Regions from separate parts of the Homo sapiens genome. Here region 1 is linked to region 2. Evidence: promoter capture Hi-C in 16 types of primary human blood cells and fetal thymus (Javierre and others, 2016). All regions are on one chromosome and are shown on one strand. The core of a region is centred on a gene start or on the middle of the fragment in contact, and the rest is flanking DNA. Distances in the headings are between cores, read along the strand shown. Region 1 holds the start of TRPV5 (transient receptor potential cation channel subfamily V member 5). Region 2 holds the start of PIP (prolactin induced protein).

Region 1 (4,417 bases), core at 456-2,955, 200 kb before region 2:
GTGGGGCCTGGTTTTACCTGTTAAGGCAGTGCTCCTAGGAGGGGCCTTTGTGAGGAGTCAGTTCCCTGCCCCGTCTCACCCAGGGAATCAGTCCCAGGGAGCCTGGTGTCCCTGACCAGCCTAGAGTGGTCAGGGCTGAGATTGCAAATTCACCCCCATCCTGAGGCCACTGCACAAACAAAGTCCTTGCCTCCCTGGCCCTCTATCCCCACTGCCCCTCTGCAGAGGGTCCAAGTTGGGGCTGGAAGCTCACTTTCTCAGAGACCCAGGGGTCCCACTCTAAAGCAGGAAGGTGAGATTCCACTGGAGGTATTGGGTGGGGAGATGAGGAAGCAGAGGGCTTGACAGTATGAGGGCTCAGAGGTACTTGGGACCAGGCCCAGTGTAAACTGCAAATGCAGGACCCCTTGTTCAAAATTATTAAGAACTTGAAGATGAGGACAGCAGGGCATTGAACAAAGCACAGGAATCTTCTGGAGTACAGGGGAGCCCTTTGTGACTGCTAATGTCTGCTCAACAACCTCACCCCTCAGGCAGCTGTTGGGTGGGAGGCAAGCCCCAAAACACTTGGAGGAAGAAGCAGCCCACAGGATTCGTCCCTGCCCCAGCTGCTCTTCCTGGGACTGGACCTCAGGGCTAAGCCATGAAATGATTTACCTGCAGGTGTGCTAGCCCTGCCCGAACTAAGAGCTCTCCAGGAGCAGGCACAAGTCTCATTCAATCTTTATGTCATTGGGATCTAACACCCCTCTGCACACAGTAGACTCAATAAAAGGCAGATGGACTGAACTCAGAGCCCTCCAGTGTCACCTGAGCTGCCCTCCTCCACTGGTCAGCACCCAGTGTTACACCAAACAAAGCGCTCCTCCCCTTTCCCACACAGTCCACTTTCATTCAAATGAATGGCGTTTCCTTATCGTGCTTCCACCACCCACAGGAGTGCATCCCTTCTTCAGCAGCCTGCTTCTGCCTTCCCTCCCCATCCCACACAACCTGGCTTCTTCCCTCTGGTCCTTTTTGGTCCTTTCACTCCCCCTTGGCTGTCATTCTGCCTCTGTCCTTAGGTCTACCCTCAAGATTTTCCTGTGTGGCCCAAAGCCACATCCTCCACCGCCACTAAAAGGGGCCAGCTGGGATTCTGTAATTAGGTGGGCTGGAAGGAAAGGGTATGTCTGAGTGACTGGCACTGACAATACACTTCTAGGGTGCTGTATTCGGAAAGCAGGCCCAGGTGGGTCAGAGGGTCTGAGGATCACGGCGGTAGGGCCACGGATCGTTCTAGGAAGCCTACCTCTTCTGCTGCAGCATATGAAGCTTGTCCAGGTGCTGGTCCCAGTCTTGTTCTCTGACCAGAAAGGAGGGCAGAAGTTTCTGGAGTTGGCTCCCGGGCCCTTCTGCCTTAGGTAGAAAACCCCCCATGTCTTCTCCTTGCAGACACTGGCAGATTATAGAAATGTGGCGAAAGAAACAGGTCTAGGATGACAGCAACTGAGCAAGAGATGGGGTCTATTTGGGGCTGGGACTCTGAGTTTATCTCCTGTATGACTTGTGTATGCAGCATGCAGCTTGTAGGTGTGTGTGTGTGCATGCAGTATGTGGGTTGTGGGGTGTGCGTGTATGCACAGTGTGTGGCTGTGGTGTATGTGTGTGCATGCAGTGTGTGGTTGTGAGGTGGTGTGTGTGCATGCAGGTGCGCTGAGGGGACTGACCGCCCTGCCTGGGGAGAAGTGCTTTTCCTGGAGGGGGAGGAGCTCTTTGCAGAGCTGAGCCCCACAGCCACAGAACCACCCTGGGGAAGAAAAGGAGGAGGGGAAGGAAGGTTCCTAACTGTGGGCTGGGATGGCTGAGACCCGAGAAGCTAAGAGGTGGGGCAGAGGAATTTGGAAAAAGAAAAGGGATGGAAGGTGGGTCCACAAACAAGGTGCACAGTTAGTTGCATGAGGGAGAGGAGGAAATAAAGACTTCCAGCTCAAGAGTCAGGCAGAGCCTGGTTCAAATCCTGACTCTTATCCCTTACAGTTAGGTGAGCTTTCTGAGCCTCAGTTCCTAACCTGTGAAATTGGGGTAACGGCTATGCCGTCTCACGGGAGCATCTGTAAAGCATGTGTCACAAGTACTCAATCACTGCCGATCCTCCTTCCACAAGAGGGCTCAAGAGACCCCCGGGCTGCTTCTCAGAGCTTCCCATTTATGTGTCTTGTGGTCATCTCTGTCCTCAACCCTGTACCTCAAAGGAGGGTTTCTGACCCCCACTTCCCAGGCCAATCCCTCTCTGTGAGAAGTCCTCATGACCGTGACCGGCCAGCTTCCTGGAGCGTCGCCGAGCAGGCTCTGGTACCTGGGGACGCAGGTCAGAGGAGCCCCCAGGGGCCTCGAGTTATTATGGAGGTTGAACAGCAGAAACTGAGCAAAGGTAGACGACAAATAAATCGTGATTCCATGTTTGGGACTCTTTCCAGGAATGAAACACCAGGAGGAATAAGTAATGTTGCACTATTTTATATATTTTATATTATATTTTATATATTAAGTAGTTTCCCTTATCCACAGTTTCACTCTCTGATGGTTCAGTTACCTAAGGTCAGCCACAGTTGGAAAATAGGTGAGTACAGTACTATAACATATTTTGAGAGACAGAGAGAAAGAGAACATTCACATAACTTTATATTATTATAATTTTCATTTTATTGTTGTTAAACTCTTTTTTTTTTTTTTTTGAGACAGAGTTTCACTTTCGTTGCCCAGGCTGGAGAGCAATGGTGTGATCTTGGCTCACTGCAACATCCACCTTCCAGGTTCAAGTTATTCTCCTGCCGCAGCCTCCCTAGTAGCTGGGATTACAGGTGCCCACCACCACGCCTGGCTAATTTTTGTATTTTTAGTAGAGACAGGGTTTTACCATGTTGGCCAGGCTAGTCTCGAACTCCTGACCTCAGGTGATCTGCTTGCCTCGGCCTCCTGAAGTGCTGGGATTACAGGCGTGAGTCACTATGCCCGGCCTAAACTCTTCACTGTGCCTAATGTATAAATTAAACTTCATCATATGTATGTATGTATGTATGTATGTATGTATGTATGTATGTATGTATGTACGTGTAGGAAAAAAGATAGTATATACAGGGTTTGGTGCTATCTAAGGTTCCTGGCATCCACTGGGGCGTCTTGGAATGTATCCCCTGAGGATAAAAGGTGACTACTGTATATGATAGCTTGTATTTATGTTCTCATTTTTTTTATTATTATACTTTAAGTTCTAGGGTACATGTGCACAATATGCAGGTTTGTTACATATGTATACATGTGCCATGTTGGTGTGCTGCACCCATTAACTGTCATTTACATTAGGTATATCTCCTAATGTATCCCTCCCCCCTCCCCCAACCCCACGACAGGTCCTGGTGTGTGATGTTCCCCTTCCTGTGTCCAAGTGTTCTCATTGTTCAATTCTGTTCTCATTGTTTTCAAAGAGGTACATCAATATTATTGAATTGCATTCACTCAATAGACCTATCAGGTAAATGAGAACAAGGAAGAATTCCGTCTGTGAGAATTCTTGGGTGTGCTGGCCCCAAGTCCCATGGCTAGTGGCGAGACTGTAACTGGCCATGAACTTGGGATCTCAGCTCCAAACCACTCTCCAGACCTTGTTGCTTCTTGGGAATCTTTTGGCTGTAAAGGTGTGAGAGACCAGCGTGAGGATACGCTGGGACTCTCCCTCTGGGGGTCTTGAGGAGTGGGGACTGCCCCCTTCTTTTGTTGTAAGAAAGAGAGATCTGCTCCCAAGATTGAGGGATGGACAAAATAACCTTTAGAGAAGGACAAGAATTGAAAGGAAAATAAATAAGGAAACTAAGAGGAGCTAGTGTTCATTGATGTTTCAAAAGGGGGAAAATTTGGATCTTTTTCTTATTAAAAGCCAAAAGGAAAAGTTAAGTAAAAAAAAAAAAAGATACAGTGGAATTATGTTCTCACTGGGAGTGGGGAGGGCTCAACTTGTGGGACATTTTTCTGCCTCGCTGGGGGTGACGCCCTTGTGGAGTGACTTCCAGTCTAAGGAGATGGAGGGAGCGATAAGGGTGAGGTGGGGGTTGTAGATGCCTTGATAAGCGAGGCAGGTCAGGAAAGGAGCACCTGCCAAGGAAACTACAACCCATAAAGCTGGTCCTGGGGCGGGGGGGTTGGGACATGGGGGGCCGGCAGGGGAGGAGGCTGGCCCAGTCTGAGCTGCACAGAGCAGGTGTGCAGGGACTTGCCGCCAAGGGCATGTCCAGGGGTCTGGGGAAGAGAAAGGGGAGGCCCAATGCTCAGGCCCCCCCACCCGCCATCCCTGGGCCTTCGCCCTCTCACTTGCCCTTCTCTGCCTACCTCGTCCTCTCCAGTGGGAAGGGCATGGACAAGTAACCTGGGTGAGGACCAT
Region 2 (4,063 bases), core at 428-2,927:
CATTGTAGGTATTGCAGTTTCCTGCTAGCTCACAGAAGAACAGCCTCATTACCTTCAATAGATGCTCTTAACCCATCGTCATCTGCCTTCCTCTGGACACTGCCTTTTGGGAGTGCTGGAGTTGCATCCTCAAGGACAGGGCTATGCCTTCAAAGAGCCAAGCAAAGAACTTTTCCTGCATTTTCCCACACAGACACTTCCTAGATTCTTCTGCCTTATGCCTGCCTTGGTCAGTGTAGCTAGGATGTGCTTCAAATGGAAATTATGCAAGTGAGAAGGACCAGGTGTAAAGACAATTTAATTGTGGGAAAAGGCTTACAAAGGAAGGTCATTGTGACCCTCACAAGCAGTGTTCTTGAGTGGATAGGACATAAACAGGGAAGAAAGCATGTGATCATGAGAACAGCTGAAGTTCTGAGTGAGCAATGACATGAATGGTGTCCAATTCAAAGAAAAGAGAAGGTAGATCCAGGAGCTGAATAAACAGACAGAGCAATTTTGAGAGATACATCCAGAAAGCAGAAGCACACACTTACACTTTAGCTCTGAATCCTGGCTAAAGCAACATACAGAGGCGGTAACTCCTAGAACTCTGATTTTCACTCTGTTGCCAGAGAGGCTCTTCCTGGGCAGCTGTGTGCCATGCAAATGATAGAAACAAATCCCATAGTATTGTAAGTCATAGGTTAAGGAGCAGATTTAATTTCATAAGGAGAAATAACACAATGCCAGTGTCAGCAAGAGCAAGTCTCCCCATCATCCCAAGGAGAGGAATTCTACAACCTGGGTATCTACTGGACATAATGTGGGCTCCATTCTCACAGAAGGAATCCTTTCCACTGTGGTTCTTCCTGTGTGGCTTACGCATGAGACAAGTGTAAGAAAGTGGCCATGTCAATAAGAAAATAAGCCAGCTCTTTGGTGCCAAGAAGTCTGATTTGGGGGTGCCAGCTATTTATAGGAATTGTCTAGAATTAAAATATCACCCTGCCTTGGGGATTGTGGGGCAGCTGGGGATCTTGGACATCTGCAGTATATTGCAACCACACCTGAAATTAAGAAGGACTCAATGACAATAAACATCTTTACATCACCCAGTGTCTTGAACTCACTTCCCCATCATGTAGAGCAGCTCAGGTCTTCTCTAGCTCTTCCACCTCATGATGGGTAGTGACTGCTAGGGAAGTCCTGATCATCCTAGCCCTCCAAGAAATGTTTTGAATAGCATTGCATCTTGAACTCACTATAATTTGATCAAGCAAAGATGTTCTATGTCTCTGGTCTGAAACCTGCCACCACAGCTGTGTTCTCTGCTTTCAGAGACCAGGGGAGCAGTGACTGAAGCTAAGACTACACATAGCACTTCAGACAGGCAAATTAGGAGGGAAAAGAAAACTGAATCTGTAAACTCGGGAAAAACTGGTGTATCTTTTGAGGTCCCAGCCATTTTGAGAAACTCTGATGCTGAAAAAATAAGGAAGAACAATCTGACTCCTCTCTCAAACGCTGACATTCTAGCTGAGTGTTGATTTTTTCTTAGAAAAACAAACTTTGGGTCAACAAGGAAAGATCACGAGTGGGGAGGGTGAATGGGTGATTCACCTCATGGATCTCCCTGGCAGCTCTTGCACTTCCTTGATCAATCTGTATATAAGAAATGTGCTGGGCACCTGGGACACCACTTCTCTGGGACACATTGCCTTCTGTTTTCTCCAGCATGCGCTTGCTCCAGCTCCTGTTCAGGGCCAGCCCTGCCACCCTGCTCCTGGTTCTCTGCCTGCAGTTGGGGGCCAACAAAGCTCAGGACAACACGTGAGCCATGCCCTTCTCCTCCCCACAAAAAAAATTGCAGGGAGGGCTCCTCTCCCAGTCTGGAAATTACATATCTCTTTCTGAGAATTTCTTTCAACTTCCCAGAACTCTAGTCCCAGGAGCTCCCATGGATCTCCTGCCAGGTTCCACTTCTTGTCCTCTTAGGAAGCCCCACCAACTCCTCTCACATTTTTGCTGGGTGTTTCTGCATTGCCAGTGGAAATAAAGCTCCAAATGTACCTACAGGCTGTAATTAGTAGTTAGTCTTCATCTAACATGCTGATCCACATCTTGTTCATAATTTATACCTTTGTTCAGATTTCTGCTCAGTAAACTTTACCTTCTCACACCTTGCCTCCTAGAAGAGAAGCATAACAGGTCTGTGAATTCCAATGGCAGCTTAGGGCAGCTTTGGCAGGACTGGCTAAAGGACCAGAGGCCCTGGCCACTGCCCTGTGGTCTGAGATTGAGCTAGACTGGCAGCTTAGACATTCTTCCTAACCTGAAGTCTGAAGATGAATATGATGACCTCTTGCTCTCACGTATACTGGGACCTGAGAGCACAGGTTCAGAAGTCAACTTATTGAGAACACATGTGTGAAGGAAGCAGAAAAATTGGAGCAAGTAAAATAAAGTAGAAAATGGAGCCAAGGGTCTGGGAGAAAGCAGCGATACCCAATCTAGGGAGTTTTCTCTATAGCAGTAGGGTTTATAATGCTGGGTTTCTGGGTTGTGATCTTGGAGGTACTCTCTATGGCATGGTCAGATATCCTGTCCTGGAGGAAACTGTTCAGGGTTTTGACAAGCTAATGTAATGGAGGCAAGTGTCCCAAGAAACCCTGCATGGGGACAGGTTCAGATCCCACCCCATTCCCGCCAGATGACAGTCCACTTAGCCCTGAAGGGCAGCAAGGTATTCAAATAAGCTATGCTAATTAGGTTATCAACCATCCATCCTGATTTGCCCAGAACTTTCCTGGTTGTAGCACTGCAACTCTGCCCTCCCCCGCCACCTCCACAACCCATTCTGGAAAAGACCTCAGTCCTGGGTAAACTGAGATGGTTAGTCACTCGAACTAAGCTGGTCATCCTATCAATCTGAAACTCATATACAAATGGGAGAGATTTTGAAGTTGCTTAGGTATTTATACCCTTTTCCTGTGCACTGGGCACTACAGCAGTTGGCACCAAAAAATAGAATCTCTCTAAGATGCTTTGCCCCAAGAAAATGGGGCTGTGAGACACTGTGGGCTAAGAATCTCAATTCCCTTCTGTCCCACACAATAACAAAGGTCCGTAGCCGGGAGTTTCTAGGGACGAGAAAATAACTCTCCTGGCCCCGAACCCAGTCCTCATTGACTGAAGAAGAACATTTGACCATTTTATTTGTCTCCATTTCCTTTCCTTTTCAGATTGCAGTGTATGGTCTAAATGTAGAGTAGTATCTAAAGTTCCCAAACATGGCCATATGTCCAAATTTCCTAAGGAGCTAAATAAATACAAATTCCTAAACCCTACCTGGGGACCACAGAAGGAGGATCTTCAAAGATGCTCCTACAAATACCTCCAGTGCATTGAGATGTTTGCTGGGTTTTTAAAATTTTTTATTATTTTATTTTATTTTTCCATAAGTTACTGGGGTACAAGTGGTATTTGGTTACATGAGTAAGTTCTTTAGTGGTGATGAGATTTTGGTGCACCCATCACCCGAGCAGTATACACTGCACCATATTTGTAGTCTTTTAGCCCTCACCCCTCTCCCACTCTTCCCCGCAAGTCCCCAAAGTCCATTGTATCATTCTTATGCTTTTGAGTCCTCAAAGCTTAGCTCCCACATATCAGTGAGAACATACGATGTTTGGTTTTCCATTACTGAGTTACTTCACTTAGAATAATAGTCTCCAATCTCATACAGGTCACTGCAAATGCTGTTAATTCATTCCTTATTATGGCTGAGTAGTAGTATTCCATCATATATATATATATATATATATATATATATATATATATATATATATATATACCACAGTTTCTTTATCCACTCGTTGATTGATGGGCATTTGGGTTGGTTCCACAGTTTTATAATTGTGAATTGTGCTGCTATAAACATGTGTGTGCAAGTATCTTTTTTGAATAATGACTTCTTTTCCTCTGGGTAGATACCCAGTAGTGGGATTGCTGGATCAAATGGTGGTTCTATTTTTAGTTCTTTAAGGAATCTCCACACTGTTTTACATAGTGGTTGTAGCAG

The links. Contacts are between HindIII fragments. The CHiCAGO score rates a contact against its expected background, and 5 or more counts as called.
Region 1: the fragment with the promoter of TRPV5 here is called in contact with the fragment with the promoter of PIP in region 2 in 10 of 17 cell types (total B cells, monocytes, activated CD4 T cells and 7 more); the score reaches 10.6 in total B cells.

Annotation. Positions count from the first base shown.
Region 1 is chr7:142,932,041-142,936,457 of GRCh38, forward strand. TRPV5 (transient receptor potential cation channel subfamily V member 5) reads right to left here and starts at 1,706. Exons shown (of 15, transcript NM_019841.7): 1 at 1,292-1,706. The coding sequence starts at 1,419. It overlaps LOC105375542 (a long non-coding RNA gene), which reads right to left. Exons shown (of 2, transcript XR_928065.1): 1 at 4,366-4,417; 2 at 3,687-3,806. The HindIII fragment of the contact is 14,618 bases long and covers 1,313-4,417 here.
Region 2 is chr7:143,130,400-143,134,462 of GRCh38, forward strand. It overlaps PIP (prolactin induced protein), which reads left to right and starts at 1,678. Exons shown (of 4, transcript NM_002652.3): 1 at 1,678-1,812. The coding sequence starts at 1,718. The HindIII fragment of the contact is 4,172 bases long and covers 1-3,633 here.